3 separate regions of the Homo sapiens genome follow, and all the other regions are linked to region 1. The links are contacts of gene promoters, found by promoter capture Hi-C in human tissues and cell types (Jung and others, 2019). All regions are on one chromosome and are shown on one strand. The core of a region is centred on a gene start or on the middle of the fragment in contact, and the rest is flanking DNA. Distances in the headings are between cores, read along the strand shown.

The links. The method cuts DNA at HindIII sites, captures the fragments that hold promoters and counts their contacts. A contact is called where the count stands out against the background at its distance.
Region 2: a fragment that was not itself captured here is called in contact with the fragment with the promoter of NTN1 in region 1 in 3 of the 25 tissues and cell types used here (lymphoblastoid cells, small bowel and thymus).
Region 3: a contact is called between a fragment that was not itself captured here and the fragment with the promoter of NTN1 in region 1, in 2 of the 25 tissues and cell types used here (lymphoblastoid cells and pancreas).

The regions. Positions count from the first base shown.
Region 1 is chr17:9,019,898-9,022,963 of GRCh38, reverse strand. NTN1 (netrin 1) reads right to left here and starts at 1,454. Exons shown (of 7, transcript NM_004822.3): 1 at 1,379-1,454; 2 at 1-653. The coding sequence starts at 590. RefSeq lists silencers at 1,203-1,992, 2,043-2,092 and an enhancer at 1,513-2,056. The HindIII fragment of the contact is 11,312 bases long and covers 1-3,066 here.
Region 2 is chr17:9,298,345-9,301,755 of GRCh38, reverse strand. The region is part of intron 7 of STX8 (syntaxin 8); the gene reads left to right. Among named protein-coding and RNA genes, the nearest start is that of STX8, 280 kb to the left of the region's middle. RefSeq lists an enhancer at 599-668. The HindIII fragment of the contact is 8,515 bases long and covers 1-3,411 here.
Region 3 is chr17:9,378,166-9,381,476 of GRCh38, reverse strand. STX8 (syntaxin 8) reads left to right here. Exons shown (of 8, transcript NM_004853.3): 7 at 2,824-2,925. Among named protein-coding and RNA genes, the nearest start is that of STX8, 200 kb to the left of the region's middle. The HindIII fragment of the contact is 4,928 bases long and covers 1-3,311 here.

The DNA of each region.
Region 1 (3,066 bases), core at 205-2,704:
TTCTGCTTGGTGATGGGCGCGCGGTGCGGCCGGTTGTACATCTTGCGGCACTGCGTGGAGTAGAACTGGAAGGGCACCCACGTGCGCCCGTAGTCCATGGACTTGTAGATGGCCATGGACTCGGGCCGCGGCGAGCAGAACTGCAGGCTCACGTAGGTCACTTCGAACTTCTTGCCGAGGGACAGTGTGAGCGTGACGTTGTGCGGGAACTGCAGGTAGTTCTCGGACTGCCAGCACGTCAGGTTGTGCGGGTTGTTGAGGTCGGTGAGGAAGGCGGGCGGGTGCGCCTTCTTGGGGTCGGACGCGTTGCAGAGGTGGCACGAGCGCAGCCGCTCCTCGCCGCGCTCGCTCACCACGCAGTAGCGCGCCGGGGGCCGGCCGCAGGTGCTGGACACGCGCACGTCCTTGCCGAAGGCCGCATTGACAAAGTCCGGGATGCAGCGGCGCGGGTGGCCGTTCTCGTCCGAGCAGGGATCGGGCTGCGCCGCCTGGCCCGCGAACATGCTGAGCCCGGGCCCGCCGCGCACCGCGCCCACCAGGCACGCCACCGCCGCCAGCGCCGCCAGCGCCTCCCACACTGCGCGCATCATGCTGCGTCCAGCTTGCCCCGGCCCTGCCGCGCCGAGGATCTGTCCGCCTGCCGCAGAAGGCGCCTGCGGAGAGAAGGGAGCTGCGCTCAGCCAGCCCGCCCCGCGCCCTCCAGCTCTCGGCGGGGTGGCGAGCGGAGATGCGGGAGAACGCCCGGCTTCCTGGGCACCCACCCCGCAGCCGACTGCCCGCCTCTCTCCCCCAAAGTCCCGCGGGCGGCGAAGCCGGGGCCCTCCAAGTCCGCACCGCTCGCGCCCCTTCTTCCCCGCCCGGCGGGAGAACGCTCTGCTTCCCCGCCACCGCCGCCCCCACGCCGCCCGAGGGGCATGCCTGAGCCGGTCTCCCCGTCCGCGACCAGCCCCCCTCGCACCCCAAGTTTCGGGCGCAGGAGAGCTGGGGGACCCCGACTCTGCACGGCCCGCGCCCCTTCGTCTCGCAGCCCGGGGTCCCTCTCAGATGCCCCCCGATCGCGTCCCCGCCGGAAAGTCCGCGTTCGGGACTTTACCTCTGGAGGGGGCAAAAGAGAAAGAAAAGTTTGCCTGGCCCCTCCGGGGAGCCCGCGCGCCGGTCGCCGGAGAGCCTCTCGCTCGCTGCTAGCAGGCGCGTCCCGCCTCAGCGCGGGCTTGCCAGCTCCATGCCCGGCGCGGCCGCCGCTGCCCCAGCCCCAGCCCCGGTCCCGGCCCCGCCGCCGCCTCTCTCGCCCGAGTGACTACGCGGCCGCCCGGCTCCCGCCGCTCCCGCCGAGCTCGGAGTGCTGCCCTGCCCGCGCCCGGGGCGCACACACACTCACGCTGGCCGGCGCGCACTCACACACACGCGCGCTCGCCCCCGAAGGCTCCGCCGCCGCCGCCACTCGCGCTGGGAGTGAGGGGCGGAGGGGAGCGCGGGGGCGGGGGGCGGGGCCGCCGGGCGGGGCGCCGGCCAATAACGTCCGCGAGCTGCCGCCAGCTCCGAGCAAAGTTTTCACCCCGGGAAAGAAGAAAGTTAAAGGGAACCGGCCCGGACGCCCGAGAGGGAGAGCACAGGCGGGTGGGAACCCGGGAGCCCGAGAAAGAACAGCAGAGACAAAGAGAAAGCGAGGAGAGCACCCGGGGAAACCCCGGAGAGGGGGCTGGGCCGGGCCAGGCGCGCACCCCGTGGGGGAGGAGGGGCCGCCGGGGACTGTCAGCCTCGCCCGCGCCCCGCGCCGCCCGGAGAGCCTCACGCCCGGGGGAGCGCGCGGGCGGGGGAAGGGGGCCACTTTCTCCCTCCCGGTCCCAGCCAAACACATCTGTGTTTGTTTTCTTTGCTGCGCGGAGGTCGGGCCTTCCTCTAACCCAGCCTGATGGCCCCCGGTGGCACCGCGCACAGGGCTGTGCCCCTGTGGGCACGCAGCCCGGGAGCGTGAGGAAGAGGAGGAGGATGTGACCTCTGCCTGCTCTCCATTTTTGCCCGAAGCCCCCGGGGTCCGGCGAGGAGGGGCTGCTCGCCCGCACTCCCACGGATATCACCGTGCGTGAGCCTGTCTGTCGGGAACGCGGCTTCGTTCTAGCCAAGGGAGCAGTGGTGGGCAGGAGGCTGAAGGGGTAGGAAGCTGGCAGCACCTGGACGCTGGCCACCGCCCCTCCAAGACGGGCCTGCCTGGTCTCAGGCATGGGGACAGCCCAGCCCTCCCCAGATCCCCTGAGGCAGGCGTATCGGTACTTCCTCAACCGCATTTTTAAGGGTGCAAAGCCCTGTAATAGCTCATGGGACCTCCACAGCAGCTTTGCTGTTGTATTAACTCCATTTTGCAGATGAGGAAACTGAGGGTCCCGGGAGCTGAAGAAACTCGCACAAGATCAACCCCCAAGTAAACATCAAAAACAGGAAGAGAAGCCTGGGCTCCTTCCACTGCAGGGCATTCGTCAAATGCATAACCTTGCCGAATGATGGTGTCATGGGGCATCTGCGGGGCCACCCAGCCCCTCCTTGCCTCATTCTCCATCGCCCCAATAAAAAGACTGAGGACAGTGACAGCATCCTTTGGTCATCTTGCAACAGCAGCCAGAGAGCTCTGGGAAAGGAATACACTGGGCCGAGAGTTTGGAACGGAATCTCTGCTCGTTTATTTGTTACTTGTAGATGTGTGGTCCAGTAATAGACCCGGATGAAAAGCCCCAGGTCCTGGTTCCGGCCCAAGGGCTGCCTTGCTGCATTAGCTCCATTAAGTGCCTCAGTTTGTCTTATTGGCATTTTCATAAACCCTGAGAATCTAAGAAGGGGCCTCGGGGCTCGTCTGGCCCAGCTCCGTCTCCTTGGAAGAAGGCCTTCCCCAGCCTCCCAGAGAGACGGCCACCCAAGCCAGCTCTTCCAGGGATGGGAGCTCACCACAGCTCAAGAAAATAAATCCATTCCATTGCAGGACAGCCTGGATTCATCTTCTTACCCCGGGGTAGCAATTTAGCTGTGCCTTCTTGTGCCGTTTACCACACTCTGCACTGTTTATTTATGCCTTAC
Region 2 (3,411 bases), core at 690-3,189, 280 kb before region 1:
ACACTTTGGGAGGCCGAGACGGACGGATCACGAGGTCAGATCAAGACCATCCTGGCTACCACGGTGAAACCCCGTCTCTACTAAAAATACAAAAAAAAAAACAAAAATGGCCGGACATAGTGGCAGGCGCCTGTAGTCCCAGCTACTCGGGAGGCTGAAGCAGGAGAATGGCGTGAACGCGGGAGGTGGAGCTTGCAGTGAGCCGAGATCGCGCCACTGCACTCCAGCCTGGGCGACAGAGTGAGACTCCATCTCAAAAATAAATATAAATAAATAAATAAATAAAATAAAAATTAAAAAAAAGTAAAGCACTGTGCCCAAGCCAAATTAATCTCAAGTGTACAAAGAGAGGTTAATATTAGGAAACATATTAACATGATTCATCTCATTAATAAATGGAGTAAAGCCTTGTAATCACCTTAGTAGATACTAAAAAGGCATTTAATAGAGCTCAGTATCTGTTCTTAGTTGTTGTTGTTTTTTAAAAATTACTCTTCAGAAACTAGGAATTAAAGGACACACACTGTATTATCATGCTAAATAATAACTATCACAAACTAAACATTACTAATCATTTTGCCTAATGGTGAAAAACTAGAGGATCAGATCAAGAACAAAATAAGGGGCCAGGAGTGGTGGCTCACGTCTGTAATCCTAGCACTTTGGGAGGCCGAGGCGGGTGGATCACGAGGTCAGGAGATCAAGACCATTGTGGCTAACACAGTGAAACCGAGTCTGTACTAAAAATACAAAAAATTAGCCGGGCGTGGTGGCAGGCTCCTGTAGTCCCAGCTACTCAGGAGGCTGAGGCAGGAGAATGGTGTGAACCCGGGAGGTGGAGTTTGCAGTGAGCCGAGATTGCATCACTGCACTCCAGCCTGGGTGACAGTGAGACTCCGTCTCAAAAAAAAAAAAAAAAAAAAAAGAACAAAATAAGAATGTCCCATCTCATAACTAATACATATCATTAATTTGGAAGGCACAACCTCTGCAATATGCAAAATAAATAAAGAGGAAAAGCCAAAATTAACATCTTACTTGCAAATATTTCCAGTTGTCTACTTGGAAATTTCAAGAGAATCAACTGAAAAACTAAGAACGCCAAGTCCTTTGCCAGATATAAAATAAATATACAAAAATTGTATTCTCATATAACACTCATAACCAGGTAGAAAACATCACAGATGGAGAACAGATTGCATTCACGATAGCTATAAAAGCTCAACAAGAAGTAGATCTACGAAGAAAACTACAAAACATTTCTAAGGTTCAAAACCCAACTCAAACTAGCTGAAGCAAAATAAAAGGGGGAGGGGAGTTTACCATAATTGTGATTTGGGGAGGTCATGACTCACAGGTTTTTTAAATAATTGGGGAATTTTCTTTTTCTTTTTCTTTCTTTCTTTCTTTTTTTTTTTTTTTTTGAGATGGAGTTTCGCTCTTGTTGCCCAGGCTGGAGTGCAATGGCACCACCGTGGCTCACCGCAACCTCCTCCTCCCAGGTTCAAGTGATTCTCCTGCCTCAGCCTCCCAAGTAGCTGGGATTACAGGCATGCGCCACCATGCCCGGCTAATTTTGTATTTTCAGTAGAGACGAGGTTTCACCATGTTGGTCAGGCTGGTCTCGAACCCCCAACCTCAGGTGATCCGCCCGCCTCGGTCTCCCAAAGTGCTGGGATTATAGGCATGAGCCACCGCACCCTGCCTAATTGGGGAATTTTCAACCCCAGAAATTTATAAACACTGGTGAAACAAATGTTTATCTTGGGTGATTGATGTTCATGCCCTGCCTAGGTTCCAAGATCTTGACGAGATAACAACTTAAAGCTCTCTACATCTCCAAGTGTTGGCAAACGTAGTTGATTGAGGCAAACCCAAACTGAAAGGAAAGGAGTTTACATTACATTTAGAGTAACAAATAGCCTAAAGCGGTAGCTTCTAGACACAGCGGTAACTCTACTTCACTGACTGGAAGCAGGAAGTGGTATGACCAGTATTAAATAATGTAAGAATGGCCCGAGCACGGTGGCTCACACCTGTAATCCCTGCACTTTGGGAGGCTGAGGCAGTAGATCACGAGGGCAGGAGATTGAGACCATCCTGGCTAACACGGTGAAACCCTGTCTCTACTAAAAATACAAAAAATTAGCCGGGTGTGGTGGCGGGCGCCTGTAGTCCCAGCTACTCAGGAGGCTGAGGCAGGAGAATGGTGTGAACCTGGGAGGCAGAGCTTGCAGTGAGCCCAGATCGCGCCACTGCACTCTAGCCTGGGCGACAGAGTGAGACTCTTGTCTCAAAAAAAAAAAAAAAAAAAAAGCGTAAGAATGAAGACGGACGCAGGCAATCCCCTCTTTTCCTTCCAAATCATCGAGGTTTTGTGGCTGAAATACAGTTCCTCGGTTTGCTTGGGAAATGACATGCAGACACAGTAAGGCTCAGCATTCTGTATAGCATAGATTGGGAATTAACCATGTGACCACATTTGCACCATCTGAAGTTGGAATTCACAAAAAAAATGTGGAAAACTATGATGAGCTATGCATCCGGGAGAAAAGGTCACTGTGCCTGCGTGAGTGTGTGTTGGAGAAGGCTTGTGTTGGTCACCAGTGCCATCTGAAGTCCAGAAGCAGATGTGAACCCAAGATGGCCTCAGACTGCAAACTCCTAGGCCAAAGGGAAATGACCTTCTACCAACAGAGAATCAAGGAAAGTGAGAGAGGGCTCGCAAAACACCGACAAGAGAAAAACCAGGTGGGAAGGTGAGTGCATCTGGCTAATTGGTCACAGACTGTAAATTCCCCTCAAGCATCTTGTTTTAAGCCACATCTGCTGCTGCTACTTAGAAGAGCCTGGATCTTCTGAGGAGTTGCAAAGGAATGCTTGCAAGGACAGATGCTACTCAGGTTTGGTTTGGTTTTGTTTTGTTTTGTTTTGTTTGTTTTTGAGACAGAGTTTCGCTCTTGTTGCCTAGACTGGAGTGCAGTGGCGTGATCTCGGCTCACTGCAACCTCCGCCTTCTGGTTTCAAGCAATTCTTCTGCCTCAGTCTCCTGAGTAGCTGGGATTACAGATGTCCGCCACCACACCCGGCTAATTTTTGTATTTTTAGTAGAGACGGGGTTTCACCATGTTGGCCAGGATGGTCTCAGTCTCCTGACCTCAGGTGATCTACCCACCTTGGCCTCCCAAAGTACTGGGATTACAGGCGTGAGCCACCATGGCTGGCCCGGTTTTTTTGGTTTTTAAAGTGGAATAACAGAAGTACATTTGCTCACAGAGAGTTACTTGGAAGAGGGAAAGACAAAGCAGGAGTGCACGTGGCAGTGGAAGGAAGATGTTGGAAGAGCACTTAGGAAAACCTGAGCTGATTTCCTCATCAGCCTTTCCATTGCCAGGAACTCTCCTGTGCCTG
Region 3 (3,311 bases), core at 371-2,870, 360 kb before region 1:
TTGTGCCTTTCAGATACTATTCTTTTTGCATGGGTTGCCTTTTTCCTGCTTTTTCACCCATGTCGCCTTCAGAATTTAGCTCACACATCATTCTGGAAACTTTATTTGATTTCCTTGTTTGCTTTACTTAATGCTTTAAGAAAAATGGTGACTGGTATTGAACAGCACATCTCCAAAGCAGTCACTATAAAAACAGGAAGGAGGGAGAAGGAGGGAGGAAAAAAAAAAAACAAAATGAAAAATATAATAGTCATAAATCCCTTGACAGAGATATGTTCTGAGAAATGTGTTGTTAGGTAGTTTTCTCATTGTGCGAACATCATGGAGTGTACTCACACAAAACTAGATGGTAAAGCCTGCTGCATGCCTAGGCTATATGTATGGTATGGCCTATTGCCCCTAGGCTGAAAACCTGTACAGCATATTATTGCATGTAAGCAGTTGTAACAAGATGGTAAATATGGTCGGGTGCAGTGGCTGACGCCTGTAATTCCAGCCCTTTGGGAGGTCGAGGTGGGTGGATCATTTGAGGTCAGGAGTTCGAGACCAGCCTGGCCAACATGGTGAAACCCCATCTCTACTAAAAATACAAAAATACAAAAATTACGGGTGGTGCGCACCCGTAATCCCACTTACTTGGAAGGCTGATGCGGAAGAATCGCTTGAACTTGAGAGGCAGAGGTTGTGGTGAGCTGCTATGACACCACTGCACTCCAGCCTGGGCGACAAGAGTGAGACTCCCTCTAAAAAAAAAAAAAAAAAAAAAAGTTTCTGTATCCAAACATAGAAAAGGTACAGTAAAAATATGGTATTATAACATTATAATACTGTACCACTTATGGTACTACTGTCGTAGATGTGGTCGGTCATCGACTGAAATGTCATGTGGCACATGACTATATAGGCTCACTGTAAGAAATTCAGGCCAGGCACAGTGACTCATGGTTGTAATCCTAACACTTTGAGAGGCTGACACAAGAGGATCTCTTGAGGCCAGGAGTTTGAGACCAGCCTGGGTGACATAGCAGGGCCTGGTCTCTACAAAAAATTTAAACAATAACCTGGGAGTGGTGGCACATGCTTACAGTCTCAGCTACTCAGGAGGTTGAGATGGGAGGATTGCTAGAGCCTTGAAGACTGCAGTGAGCTATTGTGGTACCCTGTATCCAGTCTGGGTGACAGAGCAAGACCCTCTCTCTCAAAAAAAAAAAAAAAAAAAAAACACACAGAAATTCAAACAACACAGAAAAATGCAAGGAAGAAGGCAGCAGTCACACAGGATCCCACCATCTAGAAATAATCATTAGTAGCATTAGATTAATATTATCCACATATACCCCTATAGGTTTGTAAATATAAAAAGATGGATACAAATAATTTTACATAGTTAAGATCGTACTATACTATATATGCTATTTTAAATGTTGTGAAGGGCTCAATTTCACTTAAAAAGATTAGAATTAAAAAAGAAATGAATTTCACATCAAGGATTCTTTTCTTTTTTTTTTTGAGACAGAGTCTCTCTCTGTCGCCCAAACTGGAGTGCAGTGGTGCAATCTCGGCTCACTGCAACCTCCACCTCCCTGGTTCAAGCGATTCTCCTGCCTCAGCCTCCCGAGTAGGTAGGATTACAGGCATGCGCCACCATGACCGATTAATTTTGTATTTTTGGTAGAGACGGGGTTTCACCATGTTGGTCAGGCTGGTCTCGAACTCCCAACCTCAGGTGATCCTCCTGCCTCGGCCTCCCAAAGTGCTGGGATTATAGGTGTGAGCCACCGTGCCCAGCCCACATCAAGGATTCTTTACAAGAGATAGTAATTACTAAAAGATCCCTCAAGCTTAACAAAAAACATTAAAGTTTTGGTGATTTTAAAAGGCTACAAGTTTCTGTATGATTAACTTTTCAACTGCTCGATATGCCTCGTTGCGAGAGATGAAGAAATTAGCACTTTCAATTTCTTTTCACCTTCCTTCCCCACTCGCAACCACTGACTAATTTTTCAGTTGGAATTACATTGTACTGTTGTGACCTTTCTGTACCTTTCTGTTATCTAATCCACGTATTTGTTTACTCTTAGTCCAGTATTTAAATGGATTTGGTTCTCTCCATCATCTCTTTATTTATCTTTTGATTGGCTAGATTTCTTCATCATGTAGTTTTCTCAAGAAGGGCCCAGGTAGTCCCTGAAGTCTACTGTGCCGTCTGTTCCTTTTTTTTTTTTTTTTTTTGAGATGGAGTCTTGTTCTGTCACCCAGGCTGGAATGCAGCAGCGTGATCTTGGCTCAGTGCAACCTCTGCCTCCCGGGTTCAAGCGATTCTCCTACCTCAGCCTCCCGAGTAGCTGGGATTACAGGTGCACACCACCACACCCGGCTAATTTTTGTATTTTTAGTAGAGAAAAGGTTTCACTATGTTGGCCAGGCCGGTCTCGAACTCCTGACCTCAGGCAATCCTCCCTCCTCAGCCTTCCAAAGTGCTGGGATTATAGGCGTGAGCCACCGTGCCTGGCCTGTCTGTTCCTTTATACTTGAATGACAGCTTGGCTAGGCATAAATTCGGCAGGTCATGCTTTCTTTCCTCTGAATGTGGCATTTCTCCTGTCTGCTGGAATTGTGTTAAATCAGTTTTCTTCTTTACTACTGCTTTTTTTTTTCCTTTTACAATCAGAATTGCAGTTTTCAAAGAATCGACATGAGTTCTGTACCTTTTCAGTTACTGCACTCGAGATCATTATTGCTAGGATGAACAACCACAGCTGTGATACTGTGATGTGAACCGGGGTATTTCAGGAATAGTAATCATGTATGTTTCCTTTCTAGAGATAATTGACGACCTTGCCAACCTAGTGGAGAACACAGATGAAAAACTTCGCAATGAAACCAGGCGGGTAAACATGGTGGACAGAAAGTCAGCCTCTTGTGGTAAGAGATAGCTACGTTATGGCTCTGTTTCTGTCATAGCTTGTGGATTTACTCTGCTCTGAGTTTCCTGTTTGTCTAATTACTGTGGGGATTTGGTTGCTCTTCTGATACAGGCAGTTCCATTTGATGAAGCACTGAAATTGCTAAACAATGGTTAAATCTGGTCAAAATGAAATGGAGTTCAAAGGGCATATCATTCATTGTTTTTTTGTTGTTGTTTTTGTTTTTAATTTAAAAGTCCTTTCTGTGTGTTTACAGAGATTAATGGTTTGGGAAATTGTATAACATTATACTGGTTGGCGGGTTTTAAAGGGGATCTCACTTGCTTTTGTGCCGTCTTAAAATAACCACAAGCTTAATTGAGTTCAAATCCTATGTTTAGTGAT